Linked DNA regions of Homo sapiens: region 2 is linked to region 1. The links are contacts of gene promoters, found by promoter capture Hi-C in human tissues and cell types (Jung and others, 2019). All regions are on one chromosome and are shown on one strand. Each heading gives the region's core, a stretch centred on a gene start or on the middle of the fragment in contact. The rest is flanking DNA. Distances are from core to core; before and after follow the strand shown. Region 1 holds the start of CYP3A5 (cytochrome P450 family 3 subfamily A member 5). Region 2 overlaps CYP3A7-CYP3A51P (CYP3A7-CYP3A51P readthrough).

The links. Contacts are between HindIII fragments. The study calls those that stand out against the background at their distance.
Region 2: a contact is called between a fragment that was not itself captured here and the fragment with the promoter of CYP3A5 in region 1, in 5 of the 25 tissues and cell types used here (IMR-90 fibroblasts, dorsolateral prefrontal cortex, liver and 2 more).

The regions. Positions count from the first base shown.
Region 1 is chr7:99,676,842-99,682,042 of GRCh38, forward strand. CYP3A5 (cytochrome P450 family 3 subfamily A member 5) reads right to left here and starts at 3,155. Exons shown (of 13, transcript NM_000777.5): 1 at 2,985-3,155. The coding sequence starts at 3,055. It also overlaps a transcript of ZSCAN25 not described here. RefSeq lists promoters at 3,075-3,240, 3,108-3,846. The HindIII fragment of the contact is 4,941 bases long and covers 1-4,125 here.
Region 2 is chr7:99,727,702-99,732,993 of GRCh38, forward strand. CYP3A7-CYP3A51P (CYP3A7-CYP3A51P readthrough) reads right to left here. Exons shown (of 15, transcript NM_001256497.3): 2 at 3,358-3,451. It overlaps CYP3A7 (cytochrome P450 family 3 subfamily A member 7), which reads right to left. Exons shown (of 13, transcript NM_000765.5): 2 at 3,358-3,451. It also overlaps a transcript of ZSCAN25 not described here. Among named protein-coding and RNA genes, the nearest start is that of CYP3A7, 4.8 kb to the right of the region's middle. The HindIII fragment of the contact is 5,911 bases long and covers 1-4,494 here.

The sequences.
Region 1 (5,201 bases), core at 1,905-4,404:
CTATTGGCCTTATAGAAATGTGGGCAGCTTTCAGGTACACCTCAGTCTCTGTGGTCAGATGATCTGGTTGATTTGAGCTGTTGAGGAGGATGGTTGATCCATATGTCCTTGAATGATTGTGTGCAGAAGAACCAGCAACTAATACTTCTCAGGTCATACTCACCTGAGAAGCACAGTGCCAGGCACACTCATCTTTTTCAAGGTGGTCAACCAGAAAGCAGTCAGTTCACTGCCTCTGTACGTGAAGTATCTCTGAGGAAAAACCCATTAAGCCTGGTGTTCACTATGGCAGGCCTGCCTGGAACTCATCTTTCATGAGTCATGTGCAAACTCCTCCAACTGATGGTTCTGGATCCTTGCAGACCTTCCCCCTCCGGTGTGACTGAGGGATGGAAAACTGGAGGAAGAAGAGAGGCTGAAGGAAGAGGTTGCCAGACACTGATTCAGCTGTGAAGCTGCTAGCCCCACACAGTTGGCTCCAGAGAGGCAAACTACAAAAATGTGGCTGAAAAAGATGATGTGCATAAAAGAATCCACATGCCTCATATGTACTTTCAGCTAAAAGACACAGAGGGACCTTCCAAAGTCCAGGTACTTTCCTGTTGATAGCAAATGGTGCAGTATGGCATATAAGATAAGTAATGATAAAACGTCCCGGAGAGTTGTATTAAGACCTTGTTTACTCCTCTTTAGAGGTTAGCCTTCAAGGCAGTATAGGTTCCAAACATTTTGTAAACATCCAGTGACTTATAAAATGTGATAAAATAAAACTGAGAAATTACATGAAGGGCAGGGTTTGGAGGACTCAGCAGGGGCAGCATGAGCAGGCCCAGTCATACATTTGGTTCCCTGCCCCAGAACAGTTAGTGGAAGTGCGTGCACCACCTGCCAAAGCCAGGGTGGCCTTGGGTATTCCCACTTCAGTTCCCTCCTTTGTTGTCACAGCCATGTCAAATCAATGACACTAATCTCTGCTCCTGAACTTTAAACACATTACCTGACCTCTCAGGTGAGGACAAGCTATTGAGTTAATGTGTCAGCAGCATTGGCCCCCAAGGAAAGATCTTGGTGAGTGTCTAGATTCACATGGTACCATGTCAAGGCAGATGCTGTGCTGGGCGAACTCTTTAGTTTCTTTCCAGCTCCCCTCTGGTAGAGTAATGCAGCCTTTGGGTCCAGTGAAGAGACTAACAGAAAAGCCAGTCATCTATTGCATGTAATTGTGTTGGCCTAAGGAGGGCCTGGTCTACACTGCATTTTCTGACTCCTGGGCTGCACCAGCATTGTCTAAGGCTAAGGCATTGTCTGCCTGGCTGCCCGAGTCTGTAGTGACCGGCCCACAACATGGCAGACCACACACAGAGTGACACAGATGGTGCCCCTGTGTCCAGGCTTGAAGCAGATGAGATGCCAACCTGTTTGCCCTTTGAGTGACCTCCACGGTGGGGCCAGGACCCATGAATATCTCTTTGGAGTTCTACCCTGAGAGCTGAGGAATATTTTCTCACTTCATATGGATCCTACCTGGAAGCCTTTGCTATCGTCACTGGCTCACAGTCTTGCTTACTCCCCTGTCCTGAGAGTTTAAGACAATCTGCTAAGCAGGTATATTCGAAAAGGAGTTATTAAAATAAATGGCCGGACAGGTATATTTGAAAAGACGTGCAGTCTTGTCTTAGAGGTATACATTTGTGCATTAGACTCATATTCCTGACATTCAGGAAAGGTGACATTATTTTACACACACTTATTGTCACAAATACTGAACTAACAGCCCTGTTTTACCATCCAGAAGGAACATGCTGGAAATAGTCTATCTCCAAAAAATTCTGGTTTAAAAATGAATGAATTTAAACCATATCAATTCATTTAAAAATGTTAGACAATGGAAACCATGTTGCCACAACTCACTGAATTCCTAAGCTTTCTGTGAAAGAATTAAAATGAGGTTTATAGTGTCTATTTTCATGTCATTGTGGTTCCCTGCTCTTAATAAAAGTCAAATTGAGGTAGAAGTTAATGGGACAGGTGGAGCCTCCACTACCCACAGTGGAAAGTAACTCTTCTCTCCACCTGCTCTAGGATGCCAGGAATCCCACCAGTGAGAGGGTTTGCCCTCCTGTACTGTAACATAAAGGGGAAAAATATGTAAAATCCAAATTGGCTTTCATGGCTCCTGCCTTTTCAGGCTGCTAGTAGATTCCCATTAGGTGAGAAACAAAGCTCTATATTAATCCTAGCCTCCCAGAGACGGGAGGAAAAAGATTAAAGCAAAGAATAAATCCTCGAAACTTCCTCCAGGTCTCCTTTGCTCTAGAGGTTAATCATTGCAAGATAAACCATCCTGTGTATGACAGGGTGGAGGAGTGACTCATAGGAGGGAGGGGATTTTCAGGGGCATGGCACAGGAAAGAGGGAAGAGCCAGGGGACAGCTTCCCATGAAGTCTTGGTGTCCCCTGGTGCGTTATGTAAATGATATCCTGGGTTGGAAGGCGGGGGAGCAGGAACCAGGTCTACAGGGGCAATACAGCTACACATCCCTTCCAGCAGACACAGAACCCAGAAAGCGAATTAATGAGACAAAAATGCAAGCCACTCCTTCCTGTACCCAGAATCCCCAGAGCCTGGGAAGGGGATGAGGATCACACTGTCCATCATGATCAGCAGTTTGTAATCTGCCGCTGCCATGTTTTCATTGATTAGTCTTCGTCAGATCTAAGCTAATCAAATCATTCCCACTACCAAATGCTGTCCCTAAACCCTCCTAGTCACCAAAATTAGAAGGTGGATGGGAGAAATGCTTATTTATTCATTCATAGATCTGCATAAGATAATAATAACTTCTATGCGTTTGTAGCGTCCAACACTTCAGCTACTTCTCCTTGAACATCTCTTTTGATCTTCAAAACAGATAAGGGAAAAGGGGCCCGATTAGCACCCCAAGTCCAAGGAAACAAAGAGAGGAGTTTGGACAGTTACTCACAGATAGAGGAGCACCAGGCTGACAGCCAGGAGAAGCCAGGTTTCCACCGCCAAATTTGGGATGAGGTCCATCGCCACTTTCCTTCTTCAACTGTGTTCTGTGAGTCTTCCTTTTAGCTGAGTGCTGCTGTTTGCTGGGCTGTTTGCCTGGAGCTTCCCTGCCCTGCACAGCAGTCTTCAGCCAAGCTGCTGAAAGATTTATGTGCTGGAGAAGGAGGCAGGGCTATAGCTGCAGCCAATAGCAAAGAATCGCACACACCCCTTTGCTGACCTCTTTTGAGTTCATGTTCTATGAGGAATCATGAAAAGCTTAATCAGTGTTATCGGGGAGTCCAAGGGTTCTGGGTTCTTATCAGAAACTCAAGTGGAGCCATTGGCATGAAATCTATTAACCCTCCTCTCACCTGCCCCTCCATGGCTGCCTTCATTCTAGAATAATTGAAATCCATCCTCACAAGCCACACCTACACATCTTTACCCACGAAATTCCCTCTGCCTGGAGTGTACCTGTGCCCTCTAGATGACTCCTACGTATCCTTCCAAGCCCAGCCAGACAGACCCCTTCTGCTAAAATTTTTCCTTACCAACCTCCTCACACAAATGTAACCATTTCCTCCTCTGGGTGCCTCCTATCCCCCTCACACAGTCCTATTGTCCTCTTTTCTCTCTACCACCATTGTAAGTTTCTATGCCTGTTTCCCTTAGCAGAGGTGAGCTCCTCAAGGGCACAGTCTGGTATTATTTACTTTCATGACCCTGGTTCCTAGCAGGGTACTGTACACATGGTGGGTAACCAGGAATGTTGGTGGAGTTGTCTTGGGTGAGATTGCTGGGCGTCTCATCCCCTCTGACTCTGTGGTGATAGCAATAGACTAATGGTTGCTTGGGACTCAAATGCAGCCACACTGTGTCCCAACTAATAAAGTTGGTCTTGTTCTGCAAAGGAAAATAATAGAAATCATGTTCTGCCACTTAATTCCTCATAAGGTAACATAACATGAAGAGACTTACCTGTTGAGAGTTGTACTGAATCTGTCAAGGAAGATACTGTGTATCAGAAGAACACCCAACCAGTTTGTGCCTCTCATCTATTCATTCCTGTATTAAAGCATTCATGATGTATTTTAAAAGCTGTGCTCCCAGTACTTGGGTACAACACTGACTAAGGCCCAGACATTAGCTCAGTTGTTTTGATTTGTAGATCCCACAAGTATGTGAGAACTTGCAATATCTGTGTTTCTGTGCCTGGCTTATTTCACTTAACATGATGACCTCCAGTTCCATCCATATTATTACAGATAACAGGATCTCATGCTTTTTTCATGGCTGAATTGTGCTCCATTGTGTATAATTGGAGTACTTTCTTTATCCATTCATCTGTTGATGGACACTTAGGTTGCTTCCAAATCTTGGCATTTGTGAATAGTGGCTATTGTGAATATTGGAGTGATGTTATCTCTTCAATATATGATTTCCTTTCTTCCAGGTATATACCCAGCATGGGGATTTCTGGATATTGTGGTAGCTCTATTTAATGTTAATTTTAATGTTTTGAGGAACCTCCAAATTGTTCTCTATAGTGGTTGCACTAATTTACACCAACAGTGTACAAGGGTTCCCTTTTCTCCACATTCTCGCTGGCATTTGTTGTTGCCTGTCTTTTGGATAAAAACCATTTTAGCTGGGGTAAGATGATATCTCATTGTGGTTTTGATTTGCATTTCTCTAATGACCAGTGATGTTGAGCACCTTATCATATGCCTATGTGGCATTTGTATGTCTTCTTTTGAAAAATGTCTATTCAAATTTTGCCCATTTTTTGATTGGATTATTAGATTTTTCCTTACAGAGTTGTTTGAGCGCTTCATGTATTCTGGCTATTAATCTGTTGTCAGAGTGTGACTTTGAAAATATTTTCTCCCATTCTGTGGTTTGTGTCTTCACTTTGTTGATTGCTTTCTTTGTGGTACAGAAGCTTTTTAACTTGATCTGATCCATTTGTCCATTTTTGCTTTGGTTGCCTGTGCTTGTGGGGTAGTTCTTCAGAAAGTTTTGCCCAGACCAATATCCTGAAGAGTTTCCACAATGTTTTCTTGTAGCAGTTTCATCGTTTGAGGTCTCAGATTTCAGTTTTGTTTTTTGTTTTTTTGTTTTTTGTTTTTCTGACAGAGTCTCACTCTCTTGCCCAGGCTGGGGTGCATTGTCATGATCTCAGCTC
Region 2 (5,292 bases), core at 289-2,788, 49 kb after region 1:
TTGAGGCTACTGCTCTGCCCCCCTCCACTATCTCTCAGCAAGCCAAACTCATTGCCTTAACTTGGGGCCTCACTCTTGCAAAGGGACTACACATCAATATTTATACTGACTCTAAATGCTGTCCATATCCTGCACCACCATGCTGTAATATGGGCTGAAAGAAGTTTCTTCACTATGCAAGTGTCCTCCATCATTAATGCCTCTTTAATAAAAATTCTTCTCAAGGCCACTTTACTTCCAAAAAAAGCTGGAGTCATTCACTGCAAAGGCCATCAAAGGGCCTCAGACCCCATTGCTCAAGGCAACAATTATGCTGATAAGACAGCTAAAGAAGCAACCAGTATTCCTACTTCTGTCCCTCATGGCCAGTTTTTCTCCTTCTCATCAGTCACTCCTATTTACTCTCCCACTGAAGTTTCCATCTATCAATCCCTCCCCACTCAAGGAAGATGGTTCTTAGACCAAGAAAAATATCTCCTTCCAGTCTCACAGGCCCATTCTATTCTGTTGTCATTTCATGACCTCTTCCATGTAGGTTACAAGCAACTAGCCCCCTCCTAGAACTTCTCATTTCCCTTAAGACATTTGCCCTGTATTTCACTCCATTCTTGGCTACCTTCCCCTTGTTCTTCAGACTCTCCTCCCATTCCCCCTTCTTGTTTACTTATACCGAACCCCATGAATAGCAATGAAAGTTTGGTTGTAGACACTATGCTCTTTCTCATACCCAGTTGCCCCATCAATCCCCATTATGACCACTAAGGGCTGATGCCCTCACTAAATCCCTAAGAGTCTGGGTGCAAGACACCTCTTTTGGCACTCCCTCTCATCTTTTCACTTTGCATTTCCAGTTTTGCCTCACACAAGGCCTCTGCTTCCTCTGTGGCTCCACCACGTACATATGTCTATCTGCTAATTGGACAGGTACATGTACACTAGTATTTCTTATTCCCAAATTGAAAAAATTCAATTTGCAAATGGGACTGAACAACTTCCTGTCCCCCTCATGACACCAACCAGACAAAAATGAGTTATTCCTCTAATCCCTCTACTTGTAGGGTTAGGACTTTCTGCTTCCACTATTGCCCTTGGAGCTGGAATAGCAGGTATTTCAACTTCTGTCACAACTTTCTGTAGCCTTTCTAATGACTTTTCTGCTAGCATTACAGATACATCACAAACTTTATCAGTCCTTCAGACCCAGGTTGACTTCTTAGCCCTAGTCGTCCTCCAACATCGCTGAGGCCTTGACCTACTCACTGCTGAAAAAGGAGTACTCTATATTTTTAAATGAAGAATGTTGTTTTTATCTAAACCAATCTGGCCTGGTATATGACAATATAAAAAAGCTTAAAGATAAAGACCAAAAACTCACCAGCCAGGCAAATACTTATTTTGGACCCACCTGGACACTTTCTAACTGGGTGTCTTAGCTCCTCCCTATTCTTAGTCCTCTGGTACCTGTTTTTCTCCTTCTGTTATTCGGGACTTGTGTCTTCAATTGGTTTCTCAATTAATATAAAAACACATTCAGACTATCACCAATTATTCTATACAACAAATATTACTTTTAACAAGTCCATGGTACCATCCTCTGCCCCAAGATCTCCCCACAGCCTAAATTCCTATTCCTTGTAACTCATTATAAAATTTTCTTTAAGGTGTCCACATGGCCCATAATCCCGCTTGAAGCAGCCCTGAGAAACATCATCCATTATCTCTCCATACCACCCCCCAAAAATTTTTGCTGCCCCAACACTTTGCCACTATTTTGTTTTATTTTTCTTAATATAAAAAGACAGGAATGTCAGGCCTCTGAGCCCAAGCCTGCACGTGTACATCCAGATGGCCTGAGGCAACTGAAAACTGCAAAAGAAATGAAACAGCCAGCTCCTGTCTTAACTGATTGAGCAATCTTACGACATTCCATTATGACTTGTTCCTGCCCTGTCCCAACTGATTGATCAATCAACCTGGTGACATTCTTCTCTGCACAATGAGTCTTATGATCTCCCCACCATGCACCTTGTGGCCCCCTCCACTGCTGACAATGGATAACCACCTTTAACTGTAACTTTCCACTGCTTACCCCACTCCTATAAAACTGCCCCACCCCTATCTCCCCTTGCTGACTCCTTTTTCAGACTCAGTTGGCCTGCACCCAAGTGATTAAAAACATTTATTGCTCACACAAAGCCTGTTTGGTGGTCTCCTCACACGGACGCATGTGAAAGTAGGGAAATTATTGCTTTTGCAGAGGGAAAAAATATGAAATTCCTGGGCAGTAATTAGACAACAAAGCCCTCACTTAGGAGAACTAGAATCTGAGAAACAAGCCTCAGGTATGCAGGTCAGATTGTCTAAGCCAGAGAGCTGACTCCTGCTGCTGCTGGCCCTGTGGAAATAAGCTCATAATTTTCCATCCAGGGACCAGGCCCTGAACACAGCATCAGATAAGGTTAGGCACAAAGGCTCGACCAAAGTCCCCAGTCCATGAGGCACATATGACATTCTATTTAGTGAAATTAAATATTCAATAATTTTGTCAAATCATCCCCTTTCTAGTGATTTTGCATGTGATTCTGCCTTTGTGTAAAAAATAAACCCATGAATTCATATTGTGCTTAAATATCTGAGGTTAATAGACAACCACTATCTCATCTCAGTTACATCCACTCCCTGCTCAGACTCACCCACAAGACGCAGCCTTCAAAGGAAAAGAAGTAAAGCAGAACACTTTTGTTCTGTGTCTCAAAGTGGCAACAGATGTCATGGGGAGTAAGACCTGGGTTAAAGCCATGGAAATTCCCCAACAAAATTTGGCATTTTTTGAAGAGGCTTCAAGCAGGTGCAAATGACCCAATGGTAAATACTTGATCTCCCTAATAAACTGAGTTTCCAAGCTGTGCAGGAGGAAGGGAAAAAAGCCTATTCATGAGCTCTTGCTACAGAGAGGAAAGTTTTACTCTCATGTCCACAGATAACAAGCCACAATCAGGGGCTCCTGTTCCTACTTTTAATACTAACTAAGTATGGCTGTACCTTCCTGGGAACCTGCCTGGAGCAAAAAGGAAATGCTCTTTATGGTGCTCACAAAGTCTGCACATCAAGTTGTGAACATCAGATTGCTGGATCTACTTGACATTTGGGCTGTCCAACTGAGGCAAACTTGAGGTTCCTGAGAGTTAGCAAGAGAGCCCCAGGGTAAACTTTGCCACGCTCTGGGTGATGCCTACACGCTATTTCTGAAAGTATAAAATCTCAGACCTTCCTCTTGAGGAGAAGCATTTTTACTGATGGAACTAAGTTGCTCTTTGCAATCATAAGAAGCAAAAGAGGAAGCTCAAAAACACTCACCTTACGGAAGGACAAAGCATTTCCCAAAAAAGGCAGAGGTGTGGGCCCTGGAATTCCAAGCTTCTTAAAAAGTCCATGTGTACGGGTTCCATATCTACAAAGTGAAACAAAAATCAGGTCTCAGGGATTGTGACTTTATAGATATAGGGGCTGGTGAGTCACTGACTGAGGAACTGGAATGATCAGGCAAAGGAGGTAACATTAAGGCAATAAAAAATAACAGTAACTCTGACGGCAATGATTATATTTGTTCATCAGGTCCTTTCATGCTTCCACCATGAGACACCAAAAAGTTACAATGATTAGCTAAAAGCAGCTGAAGTCTTCATGGCCCCAGTCTGGGATGAATATTTGATAAATGTTCTCAAATGTGAATGATCCTGAGAGGTTCAGGAACGAATTCTTCCAGGCACTTCATTCCCTCATGTCTTTTTAGTAAGTGGACTCTTCCCTGATTTTGGGATTCTCATCCTAGGTAGAAAGAGTGACAATTTTTCTTTTGTCTTCTGCAGTGATGATGAGATTTTGCATCACTGCATCCACTCAGTCACAGGGGGTCACTGAGAGCCTATGGTGACCCTGTCTTTAGAATTTGCTCAGAGGCTTTTAAGCTTTCCCTTCACTCTAAGCTCTGACCCTGTTTTAGGATCTGGCCCTTCTTAAACTGTCATTCACAGAGAGGTCTTGGAGGAGTCACAGAGTCCTTATTTCTACAGATTGACAACTGTGCTCCAGGCTTCCATTGGCCTCGTAGAAGTGCGAGCACCTTTTAGCTACACCTCAGTCTCTGTGGTCAGAGGATCTGATTGATTTGAGCTATTGGGGAGGATGATTGACTCATATTTTCCTGAATGACACTGTGCAGAAGAATCACAACTAAGAACAAGGACATTCCTCCTCTTGTGGAATCTAGCCTTCCAACTGGTGATATCCACCTGATAAGCACAGTGCCAGTGATATGATCTGAATCTGTGCCCCTACCCAAATCTCATGTTGAAATGTAATCCCCAATTCTGGAAGTGGGGCCTGATAGATGGTGGTTGTATCTTAGAGGCAGTTTCTCATGGTTTCACACCATCCCCCTTGGGTGCTGTCCTCTTGACAATGAGTTTTTATGAGATCTGGTGGTTTATAAGTGTGTGGCACCTCCTCCCCACCCTCTCTTGCTTCTGCTCCAGTCATGTAAGATCTGCCTGCTTCTTTTTCACCTTCTGCCATGATTGTAAATTTCCTGAGGGCACCCTAGCGGCAGAAGTCGCTATGCTTCCTGTAGAGCCTGCAGAACCATGAGCCAATTAAATCTCTTTCCTTTCTAAATTACCCACCCTGAGATTTTTTTTTATAGCAATGGAAGAAAAGACTAATACAGCCAGACATGCTCATTTTTTTTCAAGGTGATCAATTACAAAGCAGTCAGTTTATTGCGTCTGCACATCAACTGTCTCTGTAGGAAAACCCATCAAGGCTGCTGCTCCCTATAGCAGGCCTGCTTGCAACCCATCTTTGATGGGCCATGTATGGACTTCCCCAACTGGGGATTCTGGATATCTGAAGACCTTCCCAGTTTGAGGTTACTGAGGGGTGGAAGACTGGATGAAGCAGAAAAGTTGATGGAAGAGGTAGCCAGCCATCAATTCAACCATGAATCTGCTAGTCCCACAAGCTTGGCCCCAGACAGGCAAATTAGGAAAATGTGGTTCAAAAGTACGGTGTGTATAAATGGATCCATATGCCTCATATGTGCTTTCAGCTGAAAGGCAGGCACCTTCTAATGGCCAGGTACCTTCCTGTTGATAGCAAAAGATGGAGTATTCCACATAAGTAACCATAAAATGTTCCAGATAGTTGAATTAAGACCTTGTTTTCTCTTCTTTAAAGGGTAGCCATTAAGGCAGTATAGGTTCCAAACATTCTGTACAAATCCAGTGACTCTGA